Regions from separate parts of the Homo sapiens genome. Here region 2 is linked to region 1. Evidence: promoter capture Hi-C in human tissues and cell types (Jung and others, 2019). All regions are on one chromosome and are shown on one strand. Each heading gives the region's core, a stretch centred on a gene start or on the middle of the fragment in contact. The rest is flanking DNA. Distances are from core to core; before and after follow the strand shown. Region 1 holds the start of PAQR9 (progestin and adipoQ receptor family member 9). Region 2 overlaps ATR (ATR checkpoint kinase).

Evidence for each region. The method cuts DNA at HindIII sites, captures the fragments that hold promoters and counts their contacts. A contact is called where the count stands out against the background at its distance.
Region 2: a fragment that was not itself captured here is called in contact with the fragment with the promoter of PAQR9 in region 1 in 1 of the 25 tissues and cell types used here (small bowel).

The regions. Positions count from the first base shown.
Region 1 is chr3:142,962,424-142,965,498 of GRCh38, reverse strand. PAQR9 (progestin and adipoQ receptor family member 9) reads left to right here and starts at 1,825. Exons shown (of 1, transcript NM_198504.4): 1 at 1,825-3,075. The coding sequence starts at 2,163. PAQR9-AS1 (PAQR9 antisense RNA 1) reads right to left here and starts at 1,441. Exons shown (of 5, transcript NR_125393.1): 1 at 1,401-1,441; 2 at 863-1,034. RefSeq lists a silencer at 2,611-2,796. The HindIII fragment of the contact is 8,480 bases long and covers 1-3,075 here.
Region 2 is chr3:142,563,239-142,566,288 of GRCh38, reverse strand. ATR (ATR checkpoint kinase) reads left to right here. Exons shown (of 47, transcript NM_001184.4): 3 at 28-168. Among named protein-coding and RNA genes, the nearest start is that of ATR, 14 kb to the left of the region's middle. The HindIII fragment of the contact is 4,616 bases long and covers 1-3,050 here.

The sequences.
Region 1 (3,075 bases), core at 576-3,075:
CACTGGCTAAATAACTACAACAAAATCTCACTTCTTAAAAATCCACGCCTAAAAAAAAAAATCCACTAGACAGGAATGTGTGGCAGTGCAGAAAGGCAGAAGACTGAAGCGCACGTTTGATCTAATTGTGTAAGAGCTTGCTAAATCAGTTACTACTTGAAAGTATACTTCAGAGAGAAGACTGAAACTTCTAGACTGTTTCTAGCATCCTTAAGTAACTGCAGACACTTATAATACTGAATGATATCCTAGTTATAAATAATTCTTATCCATAACTTAAATCCATCTTGAGGCTCTACTAAGTAAATCTTCCTTAACCTACTTAGAGGATGTGCAGTAGCGATGAAAGTAGCCTTTCTTTTCTTTTTCTTTTTTTTTTTTTTTTTGAGACGGAGTCTCGCTCTGTCGCCAGGCTGGAGTACAGTGGCGCGATCTCGGCTCACTGTAACCTCCTCCGCCTCCTGGGTTCCAGCGATTCTCCTGCCTCAGCCTCCCGAGTAGCTGGGACTACAGGCGTGCGCCACCACTCCCACATAATTTTTTGTATTTTTAGTAGAGACGGGGTTTCACCGTGTTGGCCAGGATGGTCTCAAATCTCTTGACCTCGTGATCTGTGTGCTGGGAGTACAGGCGTGAGCCACCGCGCCCGGCCTTAAGCCCCTTTCTTTAAGGCTCAAGGGCATATTTTCACACTGCAGTGCATCACAACCGTTTTCATTCTTCCAGTGTTCCTTTCTTCTGGTCTCCAGCCACCTGCCAGGTACTTCTGATTAATTACATATAAGATTTATCCAAGCCACCCCCTCCGTTTCTACCAACTGGACTTCATTCTCTTCAGTTCCTGCTAGAATGCACCTCCTACCTGAAGTCTTCCCTCATCAATGCCCTCCATGATCAGCCTTTGACTCTGGAATCCCTTAATATATTCCTCAGATCATTAGAGGTTTTCTGAGTCATCATCTGAGATTTTTCATTAAATTGTGGAGTTTGAGCAGCCAGTCCTGAGCTGTCGGACTCAGTTCCAAATAGAAGTCCTAGTTAAAGACACAAAAACAAGAAGATGGGTTAGCTGCGGCTCGAAGAGCTGGTGAGCGCGACCACAGGGCAGCTTGCGGACGGTTCTTTCGGACAGGACAAGGGCGAGGGAAACGGCAGAATGGTGACGCACCTGAGTGCGCCCACTAGACGAAAGAAGACCAACTAAGCCTTCGTGTAGTGCGTAGACAGGCCGACACACACACACACACACACACACACACACTAACACACACGCAAAGACAGTGAGGGAGCGAGAGGCGCATCCCCAGGTAGCTGACAATGACACGGCCCCGATCCGGACGCGGGCTTAAAGCCCCCCGACTTCCGGAGTGCCCCCCTCCCCGGCGACCTCCGGAGATTACCGCTGGCGCATCTCTCCGCCCTGCCCGGCTCCGGCGCCCTCCCCTCCCCCCGCAGCCGCAGCTCCCCGCCCCCCGCGAACGCGGCTCCCCAGTGTCCTCCAGAACGCCCGCGTGGCTGTCGGGTTTCGAACCCCAGGGCCGACTCTAGTACTCGGCGCGCGCGCCGCCGCGTCGCCGACCAGCCTGCGGCCCCCGCATCAATCATTAACGGGGCGGCCCGGGCTGCGGCGGCCCGAGGAGGGGGATGGTACGGAACTCGAGACAGGGGACAACTCTATCCCCCGAAGCGGCCGCGAAACCCTAGCCTGGGAGGCCCCCGCCCTTCCTCGGTGCGCCCGTCCCTCCCTCCGCGCCTCGGCTCGCACATCCCCACCTCCCGCTCCGGGGGCGGCGGCGGCGGAGGCACCCGCACCGCGCGATGCCCAGTCACCGCTGCCGCGCTGCCGCCGCAGTCAGCCGCGCCGCCGCCGCTGCCGCAGCGCGGGCGGCCGCGCGCCGGTAGCAGGGGCTTGGCGAGGAAGCCGCTGAGCCTCGCGCGCTCCGCGCTCCTGGCGGTCGCAGCGCTGCCTATTAATTGATTCTCTTATTGATTTATTTAATTTTTAGGAGCGGCTGCTCGGAGGCACGGGTCTTCTCCTAAACCTGCAGCGACGCCCCCGGCGTGGGCACAAAGGCTCCGACGGCGGCCGGCGGGGGCTGCCCAGCGCCCGGGAGCCGGCGCCAGAGGTCGCCTGCGCGCGCCCTAGCCGAGCCCCGGGCACCATGCCGCGGCGCCTGCAGCCCCGGGGCGCGGGCACAAAAGGCCCTCCGGCCCCGGCCCCGGCAGCTTCGGGGGCCGCCCGGAACTCCCACTCTGCCGCCTCCCGGGACCCCCCAGCGTCTGCCAAGCCGCTGCTGCGCTGGGACGAGGTGCCCGACGACTTCGTGGAGTGCTTCATCCTGTCGGGCTACCGGCGTCTGCCGTGCACGGCCCAGGAGTGCCTAGCCTCGGTGCTGAAGCCTACCAACGAGACGCTCAACTTCTGGACGCACTTCATCCCGCTGCTGCTGTTCCTGAGCAAGTTCTGCCGTCTGTTCTTCCTGAGCGGCGGCGACGTGCCCTTCCACCACCCGTGGCTGCTACCGTTGTGGTGCTACGCGTCGGGAGTGCTGCTGACCTTCGCCATGAGCTGCACGGCGCACGTGTTCAGCTGCCTGTCGCTGCGTCTGCGCGCCGCCTTCTTCTACCTGGACTACGCGTCCATCAGCTACTACGGCTTCGGCAGCACGGTGGCCTACTACTACTACCTGTTGCCAGGCCTCAGCTTGCTGGATGCCAGAGTCATGACTCCATACTTGCAGCAGCGCCTGGGCTGGCACGTGGACTGCACGCGCCTTATCGCCGCCTACCGCGCCCTGGTGCTGCCTGTGGCCTTCGTGCTGGCGGTGGCTTGCACTGTGGCCTGCTGCAAGAGCCGTACCGACTGGTGTACCTACCCGTTCGCGCTGCGCACCTTCGTCTTCGTCATGCCGCTCAGCATGGCCTGCCCCATTATGCTCGAGAGCTGGCTCTTCGACCTGCGTGGGGAGAACCCCACACTCTTCGTGCACTTCTACCGCCGCTACTTCTGGCTGGTGGTGGCCGCCTTCTTCAACGTGAGCAAGATCCCCGAGCGCATCCAGCCGGGTCTTTTCG
Region 2 (3,050 bases), core at 533-3,032, 400 kb after region 1:
TCTTTAAAATGAATCTTATTGTTTTAGTTGCTGTAGAACTTGTAAAGAAAACTGACTCTCAGCCAACCTCCGTGATGTTGCTTGATTTCATCCAGCATATCATGAAATCCTCCCCACTTATGTTTGTAAATGTGAGTGGAAGCCATGAGGCCAAAGGCAGTTGTATTGGTAAGTGCTGTTATTCATGCATTCACTTGCCATCTGTTCTATAAAATCCTCCTTTTACTGCTCTTCTGAAATATTACATGTACAGGATTATACTTTTTTGGGTCAGCTTTGCTATAAATTGAAGGAGCAAAATGGTAATGGTTATTTTTCCTTCACATATCCTTATTGTTTTCTTTTTAGTATTGTATACTAGGTACTTAGAAATAATCAAATTTGTTTATTTGCCATTGAACACTTTGGCATGGTTTTCTTTTTTCTGTTTTTGGTAATCTCTTTCTTCTAGATCAGAGCTTGGCAAGCTGTAGTCCACAGGGTGGCTGCCTGTTTTTGTGAACAAAGTTTTGGTGTTTTGTTTTGTTTCCTTTTTTTTTTTTTTTTTTTTTTTTTAAATAAGACAGGGTCTCGCTATGTTGCCCAGGCTGGTCTTGAACTGGTAGACTCAAGGGATCCTCCTGCCTCAGCCTCCTGCATACCTGGGACCATAGGCACATGCTACTGTGCCTGGCTTCAGTTTTTGTAAACAAAGTTTTATTAGAACACAGCCATGCTCATTCTTTTACTTATTGTCTGTGACTACTACAAAGGCAACTTGGGCACTCAAGCCAAAAATATTACTATCTGGTCCTTTAAAAAAAGTTTGCTGACCGCTATTCTATATATTGAAGCTTTTCTCTAGGCTTATTCTTTATTGCACCTACTACTTTTGTCCCTTCATTGGTGTCTTCATAAAGAGATGCAAAATAAACATTTTTTTTGTATAATGGATAAAGTATTTTAAAATTTTTTGTTCAAACTTTAACTCAACTTTGATAGCATGTCCTCCAAGAAGTTTTTTTCTGAGCACTACTTCTAACTGCTTAGAACTGGCTTGGTTATTCCTTTATTCTCTCTTAGTACTAAGTGTTCTGCATTTCATCTATCATAGAGGCTATTAAACTGTGCTCTAATCATTGGTTTGTCTATATTCTTTCCTACAGTAGTTTTTAAACTACAGGTCATAACCCACTAGTGGGTTATGAAATTAGGCAATTATCAGCATTTAAAACAAGATGAAATAAACTAGAAAATATCATAGGCTGGGCACGATGTCTCACGCCTGTAATCCCAGCACTTTGGGAGTTCGAGACCAGCCTAGGCAACATGGCAAAATCCTGTCTCTACCAAAACCAAACCAAACCAAACCAAAACAAAACAGAAAAACATTAGCTGAACATGGTGGCACATGCCTGTGGTACAAGCTACTTGGAAGGCTGAGGCACACTAATTGCTTTAGCCTGGGAGGCAGAGATTGCAGTGAGCTAAGACCATGCCGTTGCACTCCAGCCTGGGTAACAGAGTGAGAACCTGTCTCAAGAAAAAAAAAAAGAAAATATTATAGTACATTGTATGTAATAAGAGTAAGTACTATTTAATGAACCTTTTGTTTTAAATATTTAAATAAAATGCATGTATATGTACTGGGTCATGATATAAAATGTTATTTCTTTGTTGCAGTCAAAAAGCTCAAGAAACTGTACTGTGAGATTCATGAGGACAGGACTATGACTGATTTATTCTTGTGTACCTGAGACAGAGTCACCACTCAAATTTTAGTTGAAAGAATGACAATAGCTACCCTTTATTGAACATTTATTTTACTTTGGAACTGTGCTGAGTATTTCATGTGCATTTTCTTATTTGGTCCTCACAGTAACCCATAACATAGATAGCATTATTCTCCTTATACATGAAATTACAGAGGTTCAGAGAAATGAAAAGTTTATACAACTAGTAAGTGGAAAGCTAGGACCTTGCCTGTCTGACTCCAAAGTTGTTACAGGCATACCTCAGAAATATTGTGGGTTCAGTTCCAGACCACTACAATAAAGTGAATATTGCAATAAAGTAAGTCACATGAATTTTTTGGTTTCCCAGTGCATATAAAAGTTATGTTTACGTTGTACCTTAAGTGTGGAATAGCATTATGTCTAAAAAACAATGTATGTACCCTAATTAAAAATACTTTATTACTAAAAAATGCTAACGATTATATCATCCTTCAACAAGTTGTAATATTTGTGCTGGTGGAGTGTCTTGCCTTGATGTTGAGGGCCTTTCTCTGGATTAGGCTTTGGCTTAAGGGAATGTTGTGGCTGGTTTGATCTTCTTTTTTTCCTACTGGAAATTTCCTCATCTTTTAACGATTTGATCTTCTATTCAGAGTACAAAAACTTTCTCCATACCAGCAATAAGGCTGTTTCACTTTCTCATCAATGGTGCGTTCAGTGGAGTAGTACTTTTAATTTCCTCCAAAAACTTTTTCTTTGTTTTAACAAGTTGGTTGTTTGGTGAAAGAGGCCTAGCTTTCAACTTGTCTTGGCTTTCAACATGCCTTCCTCAGTAGGCTTAATCATTTCTAGCTTTTGATTTGAAGTGAGAGATGTGTGACTCTTCCTTTCATTTGAACACATAGAGGCCATTGTAAGGGTTATTAATTAACCTAATTTCAATACTGTGTCTCAGGGAATAGGGAGACACAAGGAGAGGGAGAGAGATGGGGAACTGCTGGTCGGTGGGTCAGAACACATACATTTATCCATTAAGTTTGCCACCTTATATCGGTGTGGTTCATGACAGCTCCAAACAATTACAATAGTAACATCAAACGTCACTGATCACAGATCACCATAACAGATACGATAATAATGAAAATGTTTGAAATATTTTGAGAATTACCAAAATGTGATACAGAGACATGAAGTGACCACATGCTATTGGAAAAATGGCACTGATACACTTGCTTGATGCAGAGTTACCACAACCTTCAATTTGTGACAAATGCAGTATCTGCAACGTGCAATAAAACTGGGTATGCCTGTGTTCTAAACTATTATGTTTCCATT